2 separate regions of the Homo sapiens genome follow, and region 2 is linked to region 1. Evidence: promoter capture Hi-C in human tissues and cell types (Jung and others, 2019). All regions are on one chromosome and are shown on one strand. The core of a region is centred on a gene start or on the middle of the fragment in contact, and the rest is flanking DNA. Distances in the headings are between cores, read along the strand shown. Region 1 holds the start of DMRT2 (doublesex and mab-3 related transcription factor 2). Region 2 has its middle 130 kb from the start of DMRT2.

The links. The method cuts DNA at HindIII sites, captures the fragments that hold promoters and counts their contacts. A contact is called where the count stands out against the background at its distance.
Region 2: a contact is called between a fragment that was not itself captured here and the fragment with the promoter of DMRT2 in region 1, in 2 of the 25 tissues and cell types used here (H1 embryonic stem cells and mesendoderm cells).

What each region holds. Positions count from the first base shown.
Region 1 is chr9:1,049,107-1,051,606 of GRCh38, reverse strand. It overlaps DMRT2 (doublesex and mab-3 related transcription factor 2), which reads right to left and starts at 1,250. Exons shown (of 4, transcript NM_181872.6): 1 at 832-1,250; 2 at 1-37. RefSeq lists an enhancer at 609-1,478. The HindIII fragment of the contact is 14,990 bases long and covers 1-2,500 here.
Region 2 is chr9:1,179,049-1,184,321 of GRCh38, reverse strand. No RefSeq gene overlaps it. Among named protein-coding and RNA genes, the nearest start is that of DMRT2, 130 kb to the right of the region's middle. The HindIII fragment of the contact is 5,380 bases long and covers 1-5,187 here.

The sequences.
Region 1 (2,500 bases), core at 1-2,500:
GGGGCTTCGCTGGGGCCTGAGCCTGGCGGCCCTCACTCTGGGGAAACACAAAGAAATCCAAAGACCCACCGGCCGCCGTCAGGGACCATCCCTGAGCCTCCGGCCCAAAGCTCCTGGTCTGCCCGCCTCCGGCCGCTTGAGTCATCCTGTTCTCATTACATGTCCCTCACTTCCAGGCCACACGTGCCTTTCCTGTATCTCCAGGGCCCCCAGGGATCCACAACCCAACAAAGGTTTTATTTTATTAATTCTAAGTGCTCTGTGAGTACCTGACCTTTAACCGTGGCCCTCTCTGGCTTTACACGGGCTTTCCGGACAAGTCCCTGGGTAACTCACTTATCACACACACACAAAATATTGTGTCCAAATAGGCAGCCCCAGGCCACTTGTCGGATTTCCCCATACTCAACTAGTATGGCCATGATGCATATAAAACTATCCGTGGAAGAACAGTTTTCCTTTGATTACAAGTGGCCCTTCAGACTCACTGAAGTACCACTCTATGCTTCCCAAATGCCTCTCATCAGCCTACACCACCACAAGGACCCCTCCTTGGGCTTGAAGAGGTCCTCTCACCCCCCTCCCCAAAATACTCAACTGAAAACCAAAATTTTGTTGTCATTAGCGTCCCATAAGGGCAAAGAGCACAATACAGACGCCCGTCCAGCCTTAATAGTACCTGAGGTGCACAGGGCTGAGCCGCGTGGGCTCTCTGTACTTAGGCCTTGGTTTATATATTTAAGGTAAGGCATCCAAGTCACACAGAAAAGGTGAAAGATGATTCACGCCCTTTGCCCTCCCTGACACCCCGAGCGGCATCACAGCACTCACCAAAACTTTGAGGCCCGGGCTGGTAGCCCAGTTAAAAGATATCCAGCTTTAGGATCTGGCGCTAGGGCTGCTGGCTGTGCATGCAAACAGAAATCGGGGTCGCTACCCTCAAACACGAGATCGGGAGCTGATAGCTGGAGGCCCGGAACGAACCCACTGGATGGTGGAGGGGGAGGGAGAAGGTAGGTGGAGGGAAGGAGGGAGGAAGCCAGTCAAGTCCTCAGCGACCTAGCCCAGCACATCCCGAACTCTGCAAAGTTCTGCTCGGTCTTCTGCAGCCTCGGGCGCCTCACCTTGCTGAGGCCGCTTTCGGCTTCCTCTGACCCAGGCTGGGCGGGAAAGGTCGGGCCGCCCCCGCCTGGCTCAGATCGCTGGCTCACCCGGCGGGCGCGCGCAGTTGCATTCAGCGCAGCGCCACTGGCTTCAGTCTGCAGACTGCGCTCCCCTTCCTAGTACTGTCCGCTCAGGCCCCGGAGCTTTACGTCCTCTGATTGGCCGGTTGTCAGGCGGTGTGAATACTGATTGGCCGAGGCACGCTGGCAGGGAGCCCTCCGCCTCCCGCGGTCTACACTCTTCTCTCTGAAGCGCTCCGCCAGAGTCCGCCTACCGGGCCTTCGGTGCAGCCGGCTCGCCTGTCCAGAATCTAAACCCGAGGTATGACGGTGCCTGCAAGAGAGAAGTCACCATTTATCTCGCGGACTGGGAAACAAGCAGAGATACATTCTTAGGAATGCGTTGTCCACAAGAGAAGGTAATAAACGACGAGGAAGAGATCAGAAAGACCAGTATTGGCCTCTATCAGCATCACAAGCATTTCTGCGACTCAATCAATCATTAATCCAAACTGGGCGTAAAAATGATGCCTCTCTTTCGGGGCGTACAGCGACATCCTTCTTTCTCCTGCAAGAGTACATCAATGGTTACCTGGCACCGAAACTCCTAGTTAGCATACAAATAGCCTGTTGATATTTCTGTGTCTAGTGCCACCTATTCTCGAAGTGCCAAATAGCTCCTCATTAACCTTCACCGAGCCCGTGTGGCAGGTGGCCAAGTCGACTACAAGTCACTTACATTTTTCTGTTATATCAGTTGCTATTACAGTTAATGTAGGGAAGATCAGAAATGCATGCTATTAAGAGAATTAGGTAAATCCATTCACACTAAGCATGCATTTAAACAAAGTTATTTTTAAAAAGATGACTACTTTTTAGTGTGCGTAGTTGTATTTATAGACTTTCTAACGACTCCCTCAAAAAATCCTTTACAAAATGTTTAACGATAAAAAATTTTCAACATATTAAAAGAAGGAATTAGTCTTCTAATTCAACGCTGCATTCTATTTCTTGAACTCAATTAAAAATAATATGGGCGCTTTTCTAACTGCATCTGTAAATAATCAAGACCTCTCGAGTAGGATCTGTTTAGGAGACTACAAAATTGGGTATCATTGCACTGAGTACATAGTAGGCCCGCAACAAATATTTGTTGAAGGGTGGGAATTCCTGACGTAATCCCAACGTTACTTTTGTCCGAGTTTGTCAGAATGTTAAAAGTTAACCTGGATCAGAGAAGTGGGAACAAAGGCAGCTTAGGAACTACCGCGACCAGCCAGAAGCACTATTCTCAAACCTTCAGTGATGTTGTAAAGTTCCTCCCCGGTGACCAGGCA
Region 2 (5,273 bases), core at 1,248-3,747, 130 kb before region 1:
GGATAAACCAAACACAACCAGATGTGGCAATTTCTGTGTAAAAAGACACTATGAAGGATCAGGGAATTTGACTGCTTCTCCCATGTGCTCCTATGATATACTTCATAACTGTAGTGGCCATCTGTTGCTTCTGCCTGCTCAGTATCCATTCCTTTGTCTTATGCCATTATCACCTTTATTTTTCCTGCAGGATCACTTCTTAGTTGATGCAATTTGGGCAGAGCCTACTTCATGGTCCTAGTACTCAAGGAGAACATTTGACCAGGACTCAACGAAGAGAAGACTCCATCATCCTGGCCACAGTGATTGATTCAGGGCTACACATGTGGCCCATGTCTGAGAACTTCTTCAGGAACTACTGGGAAAAGATGTTTCCTTTCTACCGGGTTTGCTAAGCTGGTACAATGTAAATCTGGATCTGCTGGTGAACATCTTGCAGGGGAAAGATCCTGTGTGAGAACGGTGCCCTTAACGAATGAAGCACTGTCAAAAGTGAGAGATAGATATGAATATATTGCTTGACACCTGAATACAGTCATGCCTAAAGTCATTCTCACATTTTAATCATGAGACCCAATACATTTCATTTCTTGCTTAAGATGGTTTTATCTAGGTTTCTATTTTGAAAATAAAAGTTCTGATAAATATGCTACCCAACAACAAAAAGGAAATAAAAGGTGTCAAGTGTCTCAAATGATTCATGCATTGATTTATTTTAAAAGCATATATTGCCCAGGTGTGCTGGCAATGCACCTGTAGTCCCAGCTATTCAGGAGTCTGAAACAGGAGGATCACTTAAGCCCAGGAGTTCAAGTACAGCCTGAGCAACATAGGAAGACCCTCTCTTTTTTTTTTTTTTTTAAGAAAAAAGCATATATTAAATACCTAACCTATACCATGCTCTATGTTTGGTAAGGGACACAGAGACAAATAAGGCACAATCCTTGCCTTAAAGGTTTACAGTCTAATTTCCAGTTTGGCAATCAAATCATTGGCACTCGAGAGTTTCAAGAATTCAAAGGACAGTGGGGATTCTTGAGCTTATTTTTATTAAGAAATTAAACAGCATGGATTTGCACAAGGACCCAGTAACTTCATATAATCCAGATTATGTGCCTTAGTACTTCATATGCAACTTACTTCCATTACATACTTTTGTGAAAGGAGCGAAATACATAGCTAGCAAATTTGAGAAAGAGGAATATGGTAGCCACATGTTTATGCCTGCACAAGTCCATTCCTTCTGATAATGGCTTTGAAGTACCAACTCCACCATTGCCTGCAATCTTGGTGAGACTATCAAGCATGGTGCTCCGATTCACAGACTAAGGCATGGCCATAAGATACAAGATGGTCTAGTCGGTTAGGTCACTTCTCCTCAGTCCTCTTTTCCAGTTCCTCCCCTTGTGTCTCTGCCTCGGGCTTTTTCTCTTTTCCATCTACACTCACTCCCAAGTTGATCTCAACCAGCCTCATGGTTGTAATACCAATGATTTACTGATGTCTCCCAAATTAATATCTCCAGCACAGACCTCTCCCTTGAACCCTGATTGCCTACTTGCAATTTAACACATCGAAACCAAGCTTCTGAATCCCCCAAAAACTGCTCTTTCCCGTAGCCTTTTCCATCTTAATAGCTGCTCAGGTGAAGAAACCTGGGAGTCATGATTGATTCATCTCTTTCTGTCATGCTTCGTATCCTAGCTGCCATTAAATCCTAATGACCATTCCTTCGAAAAAGATCCAGAGCCAATCCCTCTCATCACCTCCACCAAGGTCACTCTTGCCCAAGCCCAAATCGTCTCCTACCTGGGTGTGTATTCTCAGCAGAGCAGCCAGGGTGAGCCTTTTTTTTTTTTGAGGCAGAGTCTCCCTTTGTCGCCCAGGCTGGAGTGCAGTGGGGCGATCTCAGCTCACTACAAGCTCTGCCTCCCGGGTTCCCGCCATTCTCCTGCCTCAGCCTCCCAAGTAGCTGGGATTACAGGCACCTGCCACCATGCCCGGCTAATTTTTTTTTTTGTATTTTAGTACAGATGGGCTTTCACTGCGTTAGCCAGGATGGTCTCAATCTCCTGACCTCGTGATCTGCCTGCCTTGGCCTCCCAAAGTGCTGGGATTACAGGCGTGAGCCACCGCGTCTGGCCCACAGTGAGCCTTTTAAAAAGCAAGTCATCACTGTCTCCTCTGCCAGGAAAGCTCATCCCTAACATCTACACAGATGTCTTCTGGGTCTTGGCTCAAACCTCACTTTTAAGTCAGGCCTTTACCAGTCACTCAATTTAAAATTGCATCACCCATAGAAAAAGTAAAACAAACAAACAAACAAAAAAATGCATCAACCTCTCCATTTAGTCTCCATAACATGAATTGCCAAGTAGCATATTATATGTTTTATTCATTTTTGTTTGTTAATTTATATTGCCAGTCTCTTCTAACTAGAATGTAAGCTCCATCATGGCAATAATTTTTATCTGTTTTGTTCAGTGTTTTAAACCGAGAACCTAAAACGGTGCTTTGCACTCAATAAATACATGATTCAATAGTAAAGCCATGGAATCAACCTAGATGCCCATCAACAGCAGATTGGATAGAGAAAATGTAGTATATATACACTATGGAATACTATGCAGCCCTACAGAAGAATTAAGTCATATCCTTTGTAACAACATGGATGCAGCTGGAGGCCATTATCCTAAGCAAACAGCACAGGAACAGAAAAACAAATACCACTTATCCTCACATGTAAGTGGGAGCTAAATACTGGGTACACATGGACATAAAGATAGGAACAATGAACACTGGAGACTACCAGAGTGGGTAGAGCGGAGATGGGGATAAGGGCTGAAAAAGTACCTATTGGGTACTATGATCCTTTATACCTCAAAACTCAGCATCATGCCATATACCCATGTAACAAACTTGCACAAGTACACTCTGAATCTAAAATAAAAGCTGACATTATTAAAAATAAATAAATATGTGATGCATGAATGAATGAACTGGTGTTCTTTTAGAGGAGGAGCCAGTAACAGAAAACAGTTGGTGCAGATTAATTCCGGGACCAATGCCCAAAAGAGAACACCCTTTAGCACGAGCCACCTAGATCTTCTGAGCTATTCTATATTCCCTAATGCCCAGTTCTTCTGCCTTTCTTTCCGTTCTTTGAGCTACCCATGTCTGACCAGTAAACTTTCCATGTTATGTTAGCCAAGGTCAGTTTCTGTTGCTTGCAACCAAAGATTCCTGGCTGATTCAAGGAGCTGAATGAACATGTAAGCCCTCACTACACCATGACCACTGTGACAATGCACAGAGATGTGGTAGTCTAATAAGGTTTTAAATGCAAATGGCATAGGGAGAGTTGTTTATAACTTAAATTCACCAAAAATAATAAAAATAAATGTCTTTACTCTGAGTCTTTCCTAAAATGAACATTATCCTGCTCATTTTAAACCAGCAAGACCTTGTTCATTTGCTAAATGTATCTTTTCTTCATAAAACAACGTATTTGCATAAATATTCTAAAGAGATTCATGAGGTGATACTAAACAGGAGATTTGTGAATAGAGCAGAATACCTTCACCGCAATGTTAGAACTGAGATGATCAGACATGAGTGGTATGAAAAACAGCATAGGCCTTTAAATATATTTGATTCCAATTTTTATGTAAAGTGGGAGAAGAAGAAAAGGAGATACACCAGAACATTAATGGTGGCTCTGTCTAGATAGAGGAATTATGATGATTTATATTTTATTATTTATCCCTTACTGAGTTTTTACAAGTTTTCTAGTTAATGAACAAATATTCCTTTGGAATTCAAAAGACAAACCTTTTTTTTTTTTTTAGGTATGAAAAGAGTCTGAAAACGGCATGCCCTTTAGTAAAACCTCCCAGTTACAAGCAAAAAGTCACAGGCGATAAAATGAGACCCTCACCTTCAGAAAGTCTTTTCCTTCTGGATAGCAACAGAACATGGGCAAAAAGGAGAAGAGGAAGCAGGAAGGGGAACAGATCGTAGATCAATGCTTCTCACATGACACCCGGAAAACCATCTGCAACAGAATCGCCAGGGGTGCTTGTTAAAAATGAAGATTCCTGACAACCAGCCCATATCTGCTGTACAGAACCTCTGAGGGTCTTGAGCAAGTTCCCCCAGTGAATTTCATGCCTGTTAAAGTCTAAGAACCCCTGGAAAGATGAAGGACACTACTTGAAGCTCCTTGGAGGATTTATCGAACCTCTGCTTGAATAATTCTAACCGAATGATAAAGCTTCACTCTGTAGAGAGAAAAATGCAATCAATCAGAACCATCACCAGTAGAAAGCAAAGTTTCTACTTTGCTTTCTATTGTGCAGACACAATGTATATCATATGCTGATGACACAACATCTGCTATCCGAACCCCCATAAATCCATCAGCCAGTTACCAAATAAGACAGTGGAATCTTCATTATGAAAGCTTATTTGACAAGTTATAATAATTGATCATTAAATCATTTTTCCCATGATAAAACTATCATCAGTGAAAATCTGATCAACCCAATTAGCACTAAACACATTTGTTTGGTCTTACTAGAATTTTTAAAGGACAGCTCTTTAATAGTAAATCAGTTTGATGCCTGCCTCGTCCTTCCTGCTTTTCACCAGACACTTTCAGCCAGAATAAATGACTCCTCAGGCTCTTCTACTCCTTATTCCCTGGGTATGACACATGCATTCCACTTCTGTGCCTGAGTCTCCCTGTGCCTCCTATGAATGACCCTCCTCTCTCCTTTCTGCTTTCCTGGGTCCTCTCCTTAAGGCCCTGTCAGTTAGGACTTGGCCACTTGGAGCAGAAGCCCAATGACCCGTGGCTTAACCCCAGAGTGGTTGGTTTCCTTGCCCAACAGGAACTCCAGGGCTGGTGCAGGTGCTTGAGGACATTACCCAGAGCCAAAGCTCCTTCCTTCCTCCCGCTCCACGCTGTGTGGCTTTTGTCCTCTTGATGGTAAGATGGCTAACCCTTCTCCTGGGCATCACATCTGCCTTCCAGACCAAAAAAAAAAAAAAAAAAAAAAAAGCACGTGGAGGGTAAAAGCACCTCTCCTATCACTCCTGCTCACTCAAGCTTGAAACACATGGTCACCTGGGTTTTCTTCCAGACCAGAAACCAGTCCTGCCAACTCTTCATTCCCAAAACCTCTTAGTTACCCATTTCATTCATTTTCTTCTGCCACCTTCTGTGTGTTCTCTTCCCCTCACAACCAGAGTGGTACAAAAGCTTTCTGTTA